Regions from separate parts of the Homo sapiens genome. Here region 2 is linked to region 1. Evidence: promoter capture Hi-C in 16 types of primary human blood cells and fetal thymus (Javierre and others, 2016). All regions are on one chromosome and are shown on one strand. The core of a region is centred on a gene start or on the middle of the fragment in contact, and the rest is flanking DNA. Distances in the headings are between cores, read along the strand shown.

Evidence for each region. Contacts are between HindIII fragments. The CHiCAGO score rates a contact against its expected background, and 5 or more counts as called.
Region 2: a fragment that was not itself captured here is called in contact with the fragment with the promoter of IL9 in region 1 in 4 of 17 cell types (M1 macrophages, M0 macrophages, M2 macrophages and 1 more); the score reaches 8.5 in M1 macrophages.

Annotation. Positions count from the first base shown.
Region 1 is chr5:135,892,680-135,898,808 of GRCh38, forward strand. It overlaps IL9 (interleukin 9), which reads right to left and starts at 3,162. Exons shown (of 5, transcript NM_000590.2): 1 at 3,024-3,162; 2 at 2,876-2,911; 3 at 2,761-2,793; 4 at 1,341-1,472. The coding sequence starts at 3,137. LOC124901074 (a long non-coding RNA gene) reads left to right here. Exons shown (of 3, transcript XR_007058947.1): 3 at 3,019-3,469. The HindIII fragment of the contact is 6,689 bases long and covers 600-6,129 here.
Region 2 is chr5:136,104,860-136,110,988 of GRCh38, forward strand. No RefSeq gene overlaps it. Among named protein-coding and RNA genes, the nearest start is that of SMAD5, 25 kb to the right of the region's middle. The HindIII fragment of the contact is 1,247 bases long and covers 1,548-2,794 here.

The DNA of each region.
Region 1 (6,129 bases), core at 1,912-4,411:
GTGGTGTAAAGACAGCATAGGTGGTTGACCTCAAATTGGATTTCAGGGGTCTTTACACACACACACACACACACACACACACACACACACACACACACACCCCTATTAAGTGGCCCTAAATCTCTGCATTAGAGAAAGCCTTTTCTGGGGACTCTTTGAGGCCTAAAATTGTATCATTATCCTTTTAGGTTGTCTTTCCAAGGTCATTTGACAGTACAATGGCTAAGAGTGGGGCTCTGAGGTCATATAGGCCTGAGTTCAAATCTCAGCTCTGCCACTTATCAAATATGCAGCCTTAGGCAAATTAGTTAACCTCACTGAGAGTAATAAATTGAATAATTGTCCCTAAGGTATGTATTTATTCAGTGAGACAGCATATATTAAGCACTTAGAACTAGATGCCATTGATGGTAGAAACGCATGCAGCTAAACAGCTGAGCTCAGGGCTTTCAGCCTTCTAGGATCTTGTGTGGAGATGCTAATACCCAAAAAACAGAGGGAGGTCACCTCTACCCAACTTGCCATCCCAGTCTGCTGTCAGGGACTAGGGTATATGCTGAAGAAAAGAATGTGTGGATGGGCATTCAGGATGAGTAGCAAGCTTCCACCTTGACCTGGGTGCATTGCCCTTTAAATACCTCCTTAATGCAGGCCAGGCATGGTGGCTCACACCTGTCATCCCAGCACTTTGGGAGGTCAAGGCGGGCAAATCACTTGAGTTCAGGAGTTGGAGAGCAACCTGGCCAACATGGTGAAACCCCATCTCTATTAAAAATACAAAAATTAGCCAGGCATGGTGGCACGCACCTGTAATGCCAGCTACTCGGGAGGCTGAGGCAGGATAATCACTTGAACCCGGGAGGCAGAGGCTGCAGTGAGCTCAGATGGCACCACTGCACTCCAGCCTGGGCAACAGAGCAAGACTCTGTCTCCAAAACAAAACAAAACCTCCTTAACCAACAGGAAAAAAAAATCCCTGTTAACAACATCCATTCAGTTAGTACATTGAATCTCTAGGATAATTTAGTATTATGTGAGCTACATCCCTGATTCTCTAGATTGTAGCTTCTAATTACACTCAGAAAGGATTCTTTCATTATTCCATAGTAGAGAGAAGTAAATGGCCTCGTCAGGAACAATGATCTATCTCACTTTAATTCTATTGTTTCAGTGGATCTCACTTTAATTATATTACTTCTGATTAAAATTCTTAGATGTCTTTTATCAACCTTGAACTACCAATTCCAACTTTATCATCCTTTTGTGTTCAAACAGGGTTGGCATCACCATTCACATAGAAATCACCAACAGGAACATATCACATATGAAAACAAACTTACTGGACACTTGTTGTTCTTTAGTACTTCAACTGATTTTTTCACCCGACTGAAAATCAGTGGGTATCTTGTTTGCATGGTGGTATTGGTCATCTGAGACAGTCTCTCACTGAAGCATGGTCTGGTGCAGTTGTCCTGGTAAATAGTAAGGATTTATTCAAAGAAATATTCTGAGGACAGCTTTGGAAATATATCACAAAGAGCAATATAATAGAGATGATTTTTATTTAATCACCATTACTCAAACTTGCATTATTTTTAGACAGGTCCCTTGCCAATGTAGGAAGTGATCTCCCGTATTTAAAGGGGATGCCATTTTTCCACAGTGACATCCCCTGGAGGAGACTTCCTGTATGTTACATCCAGGAAACATGAGGGCTCTGGGCCCTGAAATAGTCGGCTCTGAATGTTCTTTTCAACGGGTGCTTCCCGGCTTCAAGGCTTGTAAGTCTGAAAGTGCAGAGTGAGGAAAAGCCTTTTCACACCAGCTAATGGGATGTGACAATTGAATGCAGCTGGTATTTCAGCAGCAGCTAAAAACATGGACGGTACTCCAAGGGACAGGGGCTGTGCTGTCTGCCTGGTTCCTGCCCAGAAGGCACTCTATCCTCTTCTCATCTAATGGATGGACCGCGATGGGTGCGATGTCTTACCCTAGCCAGGGCAAGAAGCTCAGATTCTTCAGATTCTCCCAGGCCTTGCATGAGAAAGAATAAAGCACTGCACCTTGGAGAAGTGCCTCCTCCTCACCCTAACCAGGAGTTTGAATTAGGAATCAGAACTTTCCTGCCACCCATCCTTCCTGCCGTAGTGGGCAGTGGCCCTCTGGAAGCCCTCCTTCCACTCACAACCTCAGATCCTCTACCTGCCCAGAGGGCAGCATTCAAACCAACAGTCACTCTAATCAGCTAGACAGACAACAGGGTGGTGGGGAGGAAGGGAGGAGGCAGGGAGGGGGAGGTATAGCGCATAGATCATTCATGACAGATGAAAGATAAGGAGTTGTCATTTTATTTACATTGTTTCACAACTCTAGAGTTATCAGTAAATGAGTTAGAAAGCAATATGATATGAGCTACAGCAATTATTATATCCTTAGTTCCAGTTTTATTTAATTGTGCACATGGCCACCTATCTAAAAAGATATTCAGGATTCTTTTTTTAATGTTGAAAAGTGTTCAAACTTCTCAAGAGGCATAAAGTTAATTAAATACAAAGAAATGTTCATAATATAGGATTTCAAGATCGTAGTTTTAAAAGGGAATAATTTGTAACAATGTGGTTTTAACAGGGAATACTAATCTGTAACAATTAAATTAAGCAACAATGTATAACATTAAATATTAAATAAAGCAACTTATTTTTACTTAAAAACAAACCAAAAAAATCCAAGGTCAACATTATGTTATTTCACTATACTTACAGAGGGAATGCCCAAACAGAGACAACTGGTCACCTGCAAGGGAAATTTCAGAGTGAAGATTCCAGATGTGAAAATTAAAATTAATTTGGAAAGTTCTTAAAGAGCATTCACTCACATTAGCACTGCAGTGGCACTTGGAAGCTGGATCTTCCTAAAGTAGATAGAGAGATAAGAACCTTTAGTCAGCCCCGAGTTTTTTCATCCTCATACATATTTCACTTTGTCAGTAGCTGTCTTTCCCATGGGCTCCCCCTGCAGCCTACCTGCATCTTGTTGATGAGGAAGTTGATGTCCAGGATCCCCGCCAAGGTTGGACACCCCTGGCCTGCCACGGAGCACAGGAGCAGGGCAGAGGTAAGGACCATGGCCAGAAGCATCTTGACAGCGGACTGGAGCTCGCTTGCAGACACCTTCAAATCGAGTGGTATTTAAAGCTCCCTCTCAAACACGGAAAAACCCTGACATCAAACTGATACCAAGAGCCCACTTTTTCTCTGTAAGTTGGGGCCACTTTATACTAACAAACAAAAAAATCAAACTGAGTCACTTGACAGAGATGATGCTGTGCCAGGAAATATCATTCCTCAGAAAAGATGATTTTCAAAAAGTTGAGTACTGAAATGCTGAAGGAAAAGTTAAAGATCTAAAAACCAAGAAAAAAAATTCAAAGACAGGGATTCTGGTTGTGAGAGTTAGAATACTTTCCATGAACGCCCAGGTCTGTATTTTCCCTTTTTACATTATGGGAAATGCTGATATAATATAGCCAGTCATGGGTGTTCTAACGAAGGGGGGCCTGGGGAGACAGAGCGGGTTGGGGGAGGGTGCATGATATTGCAGAACTTCACTTATCTCTGTTGGGGTTTTCCTTTAGTAATTGCAACCTCAGTCTTACTATGCTTTATTCCCAAATCTCAATGTTTTTCATACCCAGGATGAAGTTTGCCACCTAATGCAAATGCATCTTAGAAGTATCCCTTTGTGCAAGTGTCTGAAAGAAGAAATGTTCAACTATAAGCACAAGAATGCGGCAACCATGCTTGTTAAAATTGGCCTTGAGGACTCCTCAGTATCTTTGGAGATCTTATATAACACTGTATGACATCAAGTAAAAACCCAGCACTTGAAAGAGTATAGTAGCTAACATTTACTGAGAACTTACTACATACTAGTAACATTTCTTTTTTTTTTTTTTTTTTTTTTGAGACAGAGTCTCCCTCTGTCACCAGGCTGGAGTGCGGTGGCACAATCCAGGTTCGCTGCAACCTCTGCCTCCCGGGTTCAAGCGATTCTCCTGCCTCAGCCTCCCGAGTAGCTAGAATTACAGGCACCCTCCACCACGCCCGGCTAATTTTTTGTATTTTTAGTAGAGACGAGGTTTCACTATGTTGGCCAGGCTGGTCTTGAACTCCTGACCTCGTGATCCGCCCGCCTTGGCCTCCCAAAGTTCTGGGATTACAGGCATGAGCCACTGGGCCTGACCATACTAGCAACATTTCTAAGTACTTTACATGCATTAAGCCATGTAATACACTCGGCTGCCAAATGAGGTGGGGAGTAATTTGTCATCACCATTTTTTACCCTTTAAAACACTGTCTACATCTTAGCTTCCTGGCCCTTCAGTATGGCTGTGTTTAATCACTATGAGTCAAAAAAGCAATCTCAGTGTAACTCTATGAAGTACTATAATTATTCTTATTATCTTACAGATGGAGAAACTGAGGCATAGAGAGGCAGGTAATTTGCCCAAAACCACAAAGCCAGGAAGCCGCAGAATTTGTATTCAAGCCCAGAAGTCTGCCTCCTGATTTCAGCTCTTAATCCTCCTGAACTCCTGTTTTTCTGCAGATCTTTTATCTGCCTCTCCCACCAGGATATATACTCCAGGGCTTTATGGGTCCAGTTCACCCCTATATTCTCAGCACTTAAGGAGGTGCCTGGGGAACTGTGGGCACTCACTAAATGCTTGTTGAATTAAAACACTAATTTGAAAAGTAGTTCTTGAAATACGAACTTCCTACTTCTGGGATTTATAAGATTTCAAATCTGATTTCTAGGATACATATTTGGAGGTATGTGCAGGTAAGTAAATATAGCTTCTACACAGTAGATTGAAAAGGTGAGGGGTTCTTTAGCTTAGCACTCTGAACTATAATAGCCAGTGGGGACAAACTCATAAGATTTCCTCGCCTCCACTGTAAGAGTATGGCAATACTGTTTTTTTTCATTTTGTATTGTTTCTTAGGAGTGATGATGGCTCGTCAGTGTTCCACTGCACTATGGGGAAGGGAGTGTCTTGGTGGTAAACAAGGTAAAGAGAAACAGGTGTTTTGCTAAATTCCCTTAAGCCATCCCACATCTCTGACTTCCATCCCTGCTCTTTGCAGACACTGAAGAGAAAACTCAAAGGATTCCCAGCCTGTGGCAAACACTTTTGTTACAAAGCACTGGATGTATGCCTTTTTCTTGATGGTAGAATTCTGATTAGTTTGGGGTACCAATGTATCCAGCCAAACACCCACATTTTCAGCCTCTTTTGCTGCTACATGTAGCCATGCAGCATGTTTCGATCAATGCAAAGTATGTAAAATTATTTTGCTTTCCTGGTAATAGGAGACAAAAGTGGCTGAACCCTGTCTTTCCCCTTAATTCCAATTTGGGTGTGATGGCAGGAGCTTCAGCAGCAATATTATAACTATGAAGAAATGGACAAGAGAATTACAGCAATGGCAACACTAACATTTTTCATAAATAGCAAATATTCAGAAAGGCAATAAAAAATAAAACCATGAGACTAACAAGAGAAGTAATAATAATAGTACAACAGTGATACTAAAATTCTAGCTAGCTATCACTGCCTACTGAGGATCCTGAGTTATAAAACCTGTTCTTGTTTAAAAAGAAAAGAAAAGAAAATTAGCATGCTTTGGAGAGATTTTAAAGATACATTACCATCAGACTAAACCTCCTTCCCTGACATTATTGGAAGACTTGAGAGAGATGTGAAAAGGCAATCATCTTTTCATTCTGTGAATCAATATTATCTGATGCTCTCTGTGTGAACCGTGGAAATCATTTCACCTGCCATCGGGTATGCCTTTCATATTGAGGAAAACACCACCCCACCCCTCCTGTTGTACAGATGGGGGCTTTGCCCAAGAAGAGAAAGCCACAGCTCTAGTTTCTAGCAGGGGATAGTACAGTGCAGTGGTTAAGACCGGTGACTCTAGAATCAGAATGCCTGAGTTCAAGTCCTGCCTCTATCACTTGCTAGCTCCATGGCCTTGGGGGATTGCTTGGCCTCTCCCAGCTTCCATTTCCTGACCGTAAGTGAGGATGGTGATGTGGAAAGTGGGAATGGGGATCTA
Region 2 (6,129 bases), core at 921-3,420, 210 kb after region 1:
CTCTCTGTTAGATCTTTCAGCTTCTTCACGCTCTGTCTCCTTTAGCTCAGATGCATGAAAACCCTCCAGAAGAGAAACAAAAGGTAGCCTGCAAAGTGCCGCAAACGTGCATAGTATTTATATGCTCTACCCAGCAAATTGGTTGTCGGTGGATGTCGGAGGGAATGGGGGTGAGAGGGTAGCAATTCAGCTTTTAGATTCATTTGGTCTATCAGTAAATTCAGATCCAATGAAGAATAGGTGGCTTTGATCAAAGATAAAGATAATGAAAAGAAGTTAATAACTTAAAATAACACACCAAGGGAAAAAAACACAGATTCTGTTACCATCAAAGTGTTTGAGTATGATAAAATAATAGGTAAAGTAGCTTTCTCAACTTCAGGAATAATGAGAGACCCAGATCTTCTTTGACACAGCAGAGACCTTTGGGACTGGGGCAGACCTTAGACCTCATTCAGTTTCTTCACTTTCCAGGTGTAGAAACTGAGGTCCTACCTGAGTGGGAAGGACTTGCCCCAGGTCCCTTGCTTGATGGCAGAGTGGGGTGTCCCAGCTCAAGGGCCTGCCCCTGGCACTGCTTATATCTACCCTGAGACATTTCTGGAGAAGGATGGTGGTCACGGACCTGGGCTTGATCTGCCGACTCTCTGTGCCTCCTGTCTTCCTGCTCTTGGGATGGTTGGCTGGTCCCCCATCTCAGGAATCCACTCTAATCTGCGGCTCTCGGCCATGAAGCAGCAGCAGTGATGGGGCTTTTTTCCTGCGTCCACCAGCCATCTGATACACACCCCAAAGGGGAGAAGCATGAGCCTTTTTTTTTTAACATAAGAAACCTACCAATAAACATCTCCGTTGTCAAGTCAACACTTGTTGACCATCTATAGGCAGTACAGAGGAAGTGTTTCTCAAAGAAATGAATGAAAAACAGGTGGGGAGTCAGTGGAAGCCTTGAAATTTTAAGGAATTATCACTCAATCGCACAAAGTCCTGTATTACCTTATCCCCTTCCTTGCCCGGGCTGACTTTCCCTGCTTACCTCTGTCTTCACTGGTGTAAATCATCATTCCACTAATCCCAGATGTGTAGCTTGGGGCAAGTTTCTGCCCCTCTCTGTGCCCCAGTTTCCTCACCTATGAAGTGAGAATAATAGGGCCAGGTACAGTAGCTCAGTCCTGTAAGCCCAATACTTTGAGAGGCTGAGGTGCGAGGATCACTTGAGCCTAGGAGTTTGAGACCAGCCTGGGCAACAGAGTGAGACCCCATTTCTACAAAAATAATTTTTTTTAAATTAACCAGGTGTGGTGGGATGTGCCTGTAATCACAGATACTCAGGAGGCTGAGGTGGGAGGATCACTTGAGCCCAGGAGTTTGAGGTTACAGTGAGTTATGATCATACCACTGCACTCCAGCCTGGGTGACAGAGTGAGGCCCTGTCTCTACAAAAAAGAAAAAAGGCATGGGGGAATAATAGTTCTTAGGGATACAATTGCCCTGGGGGTGATGTGAAATGAGGGCTATCACACTTAGCATATAGTAGAAGTTCAATAAGCTTTAGTTCTCTTCCTTCTGTAATGGGAGACTATACACATGTTCCTTAAGCAGTGGGTCCCAACAGAACAGGAGGGTGCCCTCTTCAGCAAGTCTTATGACATCTTGCCTTCCTACACACCTGAATCTTTGTCCTGCAGCCTCGGCCGCCAACAAGAAAGACCAATCTGATGCTTAAAGGATGTGTTCAATTCTCCTGGGTAGCATGGGCACCTCATCCTGGCAGGGTCATGGTGGAAAACATTTGCCTTTTCTGTCCCAGGCCCACAACCAGGGGCTCCAGCCCTGAAGTTTCTAATTGTTTACTTCGCAACACTTGAATTTTTATTCTAAAAAAAAGGAAGGAAAAAAAAAGGAAAAGAAACCAGGGCCCAGACTTAATGCAAATGAATCCCAAGGGGAGTCTGTTACCTTCGGGCTCAGAACAATGAGTTAATTGAAAGCGGTAATGAGAAAAAGCAGCTGGCATTCATAAACCCATGGGCCAATGAGCAGTTCAATTCCTGGGCAGCAGGTGAGAGCCAGGCTTTCTAGACAACCAAAATGTCAATTTGCTTCTGAAAATAATTGCCCGAGGAATACCAAGCCACCAGCAAGGACTGAGCCTGTCTACAGGTCCTGTCACCTGGCTGGGGGCCACCTGTGATGGCCCCAGCACCCAGACCTTCAAGTCTTGAGAAAACTGTGCTTTAAGGACTTACCTGAGACTAAGGACACACACCCACGATGGACACCCAACTGGAGAGTCATGTGAGAAGCCCCAAAGTCAAAGGACTTGCTTCACATTCCAGCTCTATCACTCCTGTGGGGTGGGGCCTGAGGCAAGGCATGCCACCATACCTTAGTTTCCCCACCTGTCACAATACCTGTCCTCCCAGCCTCCCAGCATTTCTTTATCTGAACATCAAATGAGATGACATATTTGGAATGCTCTGTAAAATAAGAGATGTGTTGTGAAAATAGAAAATCCCAACAGAGTGAACTGAGGGGTCAGACTACCTGGTTAACTCAGATAAGACTCAGAAACTAATGCATACCTCACGAGATTGATGAGGGAATTTGATAAAATAGTGTGTGTGTGTGTGTGTGTGTGTGTGTGTGTGTGTGTGTATAAACATACAAACAAAGCATTTGGAAAGGTAAACACTGATGTTTAGCACATATGGTAAGCCCTGAATAAATGTTAACTAATATTGATTATGGGTTATTATTTTCAGGACAGCCTCAGCTTGTAATGACTAAGCCAAGCTTATGTCAGATGCCCAGTTTGGGTTTCTATGCACTTTGCTTCATTTTCTAATCATTTCTGGCCACATGGGTCAAATATCCACTCTGCCCACAGTAGTCCTGCATCATACAAAGAGGGCTAGGCTGAGTAGACAGAGCAGTAGATGGTTTTAAAGACAAAATGATTCACAACACAGCTGAGATCTAACCAATTGAGATGCCATGTCTTTCCAAGACCAGAAAATTACACTACACTGTGAACTCATTGCAGTCTTGTCCACCTGCTGGGCCATGGAGCAGTGTCATGGAATCTCCAGGGAGCCTTTTATTTGAACCACTGATGGAATCCAGAGCACAAGAACCTGGGAAGTGTGATTGTGCATGTGTGTGTTTGTTGGATGAGAGATGTGGAACAGCCACCAAGAAAAAAATAATATGCTCCTTGGATAAGACAGAGGATACTTCACACAAGGGTCTTCCTGGGTATCTATCTGCCCACTTCTCCTGCCTCTGCTTGTCTCTTAGAGTATCTCAGAATGTCCTTCTGAGAAAGTCCCCTTAGATCATGCCATTGTTCATAAGCAACCTCAAGTGGGACTTTCTGGCAGGTCCTAAGGGATGTCAACCATACTGTGCTGAGCATAAGTCCCACAGCAAGTGCAGGAATGAGTCTGCGGGGCTGTGTCTTGGCATGTCCTTCAGTAAAAGCCAAAGGCAATATTAAAGCACAACTGCTTAATTCACACGCTGCCAGTAGGAGTGAAAACTGGCACAACCTTTTTAGAGCACAATTTGGCAGTATTTTTCAAAACTAAAGATTTACCTACTCTTTAACTCAGGTTTTACTTCAAAACCTCAGTTCTTCAGAAGAAACATGCCCATGCATGCACAGAGGCATAGGCACAAGCCTGTTTATTACAGCATGCCAGTAATAGGAGACAACTGGAAACAACCCAGGTACTCATCCAACTGCACAAAGATGCAAGGATGCTTGCTACATCAGGTTTATAACAGCAACAAAAAAAGCAAGGTGGTGCAAACTCTTTTGTAGGAGCTTTTATAAAATGGACGTGATTTAGTATGTAGTCTACAGTGGCATGGAAAGGCTCCAAATATATATTAAGTGGAAAAAGTAGATTGCAAAGCATTAAATGCACTAAAATCCTTTTTGATAGCATACATATGGCAACAAGATCTGAATGAATGTATGGAGAAGTATTAACAGTTGTTATCTTGGTGGGGGAGGGGAGGGAGGTTACAGGAAACTTGTACTTTCTACATTATTTATTTCTATAGGGCTTGACTTCTTCATGATGAGGATACATTAATTTTGAATTTTAAAACAGTCAGAATGATTAAGGAACTATACATAAGCAAAACTGAGGATAAATCAATCCCAGAGCAGAGGTTATAACAGCATATGTGCAACAGCTGAGTTAGAGCGCAGTTTCAAAGATGCAGAGAGGCAGTTTGATTTGGGCTCTTTTGTGGGATCTTTAGTAGGCAGTGGTCAAGTTTTGCTAGAACCTGGGACATAGGCAGCTCAAGGGCCTGTTTTCCACTGAAGGCAGCAAACACCAACCAACCAGCACCTTGTGAGTCGCTCACTGATAGGGGAGTTCTGAGCATCAGAGCAGAGGGGTGGTTGTCTGGCCACCTGAATGCAGGGGCAGCCCCCTTCTTTTTCTTCCCATGGAGCTGGGGTGCAGAGGAAGTGGTCAAAGCCTGGTTGCCCCTTGAGAGCAGACCTGGGTCTGAGCCAACAGGGAAGGGTTTCCTTATAGCTCCATCCATCACCCAGGCGGGAAACTCTGAACAGATGATTTTCCATTCTTTCCTTCCTCCAAGAGGCCCCAAAAAAACTTTCATGTTTCCCTTTATGGCTCCCTAATTCTTCAAGTTTTGATTCAGGGTGAGCTGGATGAGAAAGATTGGATTACACACTGGGGGACGGTCAATTCTGGGATCCAGATGGCTGAGCAGACTCTGCTCACAGCTTCTTATGCTGTGTTGCTGTCTTAGTCTATTCAGCTGCTGTAACAAAATAACCTGGACTGGGTAAGTTATAAACACAGGAATTTATTGCTCACAGTTCTAGAGGCTGGGCAAGTTCAAGATCAATGTGCCAGCAGATTCAGTGTCGGGTGAGGTGCCTCACAGATGGTATCTTCTGTGTCCTTCTGTGATGGAAGGACAAACAAGCTGCCCCAGGCTTCTTTGATAAGGGCACTAATCCCCTTCATGAGGGCTCTGCCCTCGTGACTTATTCACTCCCAAAGGCCCTACCTCCGCATTACCCTGGGAGCTAGGTTTCAACATATGAATTTACAAAGAACACAAACATTCAGACCATAGAATCATTTCTTGCAGATAAGCAGGCCAGGACAGAGTCCTCCTCCCTAGCAAGACATTATCAACTGCTCTAGAACCTGAGTCTGAGGAACAGCACGTGTGCCTCTTTTGAGTCAGTAAAGTCAGCTGGACCTGTTGGAAAGGTGGCATGGGGTGAGAAGTCTTTGCTTCCCTTAATCCCACCTCATCTGAGATCTGCTTCCAATTTTAATGTTGTTTCTGGGGAGAGGCCCAGAACTGTCTCTGAGCCTTTTTAACAGTGAGAAGATTTATACAAGTCATGTGAACTACCCTGAAATATTTAAAAGCTAACTCATGATGGAAGACCTTAGACCTATTCTGTGGGTTTCCAGAGGATATGTATCCTTGTCAATAGTGGGAATGACCAACCTGGGCAACAAAGCAAGGTCCCATGTCTACAAAAAAATGTAAAAATTAGCTGGGCACAGTGGTATGTGCCTGTAGTCCCAGTCATTTGGGCGGCTGAGGCAGGAGGATCTTTTGAGCCCAGGAGTTTGAGGCTGCAAGTGAGTTATGATTGTGCCACTGCACTCCAGCCTGGGTGGCAGGGCAACACCCTATCTCAAAAAGAATAGTAATGATAATAAAATGGGGATGGGTTATAGGGGAAGTGGGGCATTTTTGACTCATTGTAAGGAATTACCTAAGAAACTGAGTATATAAAGGAATGAACCATTTCCTACAGCAGCAGTGAGTTCCCTGTCACAGGAAGAGTGTAAGCAGAGAGCTGATGGCCATTGTCAGGCTTGTTAGAGGATGACTAGGATGCTCTAACAAGGAGGGAATGTTGTTCCCTTCCAGAATTTCATTCGAATATGAGATGTATGAGAATAGGGACTGCATCTGCTTGTCCATGGTTGTACACCAGTTACATGAGCAATGCTTGTGTAGAGGATGTTTGGTGTGTATTTTTGAACAGGGAAGTAAAATAATGATCGAAGGGAGGAAACTGAAGCTCCGTGTCATCTTTACCTAGCACAC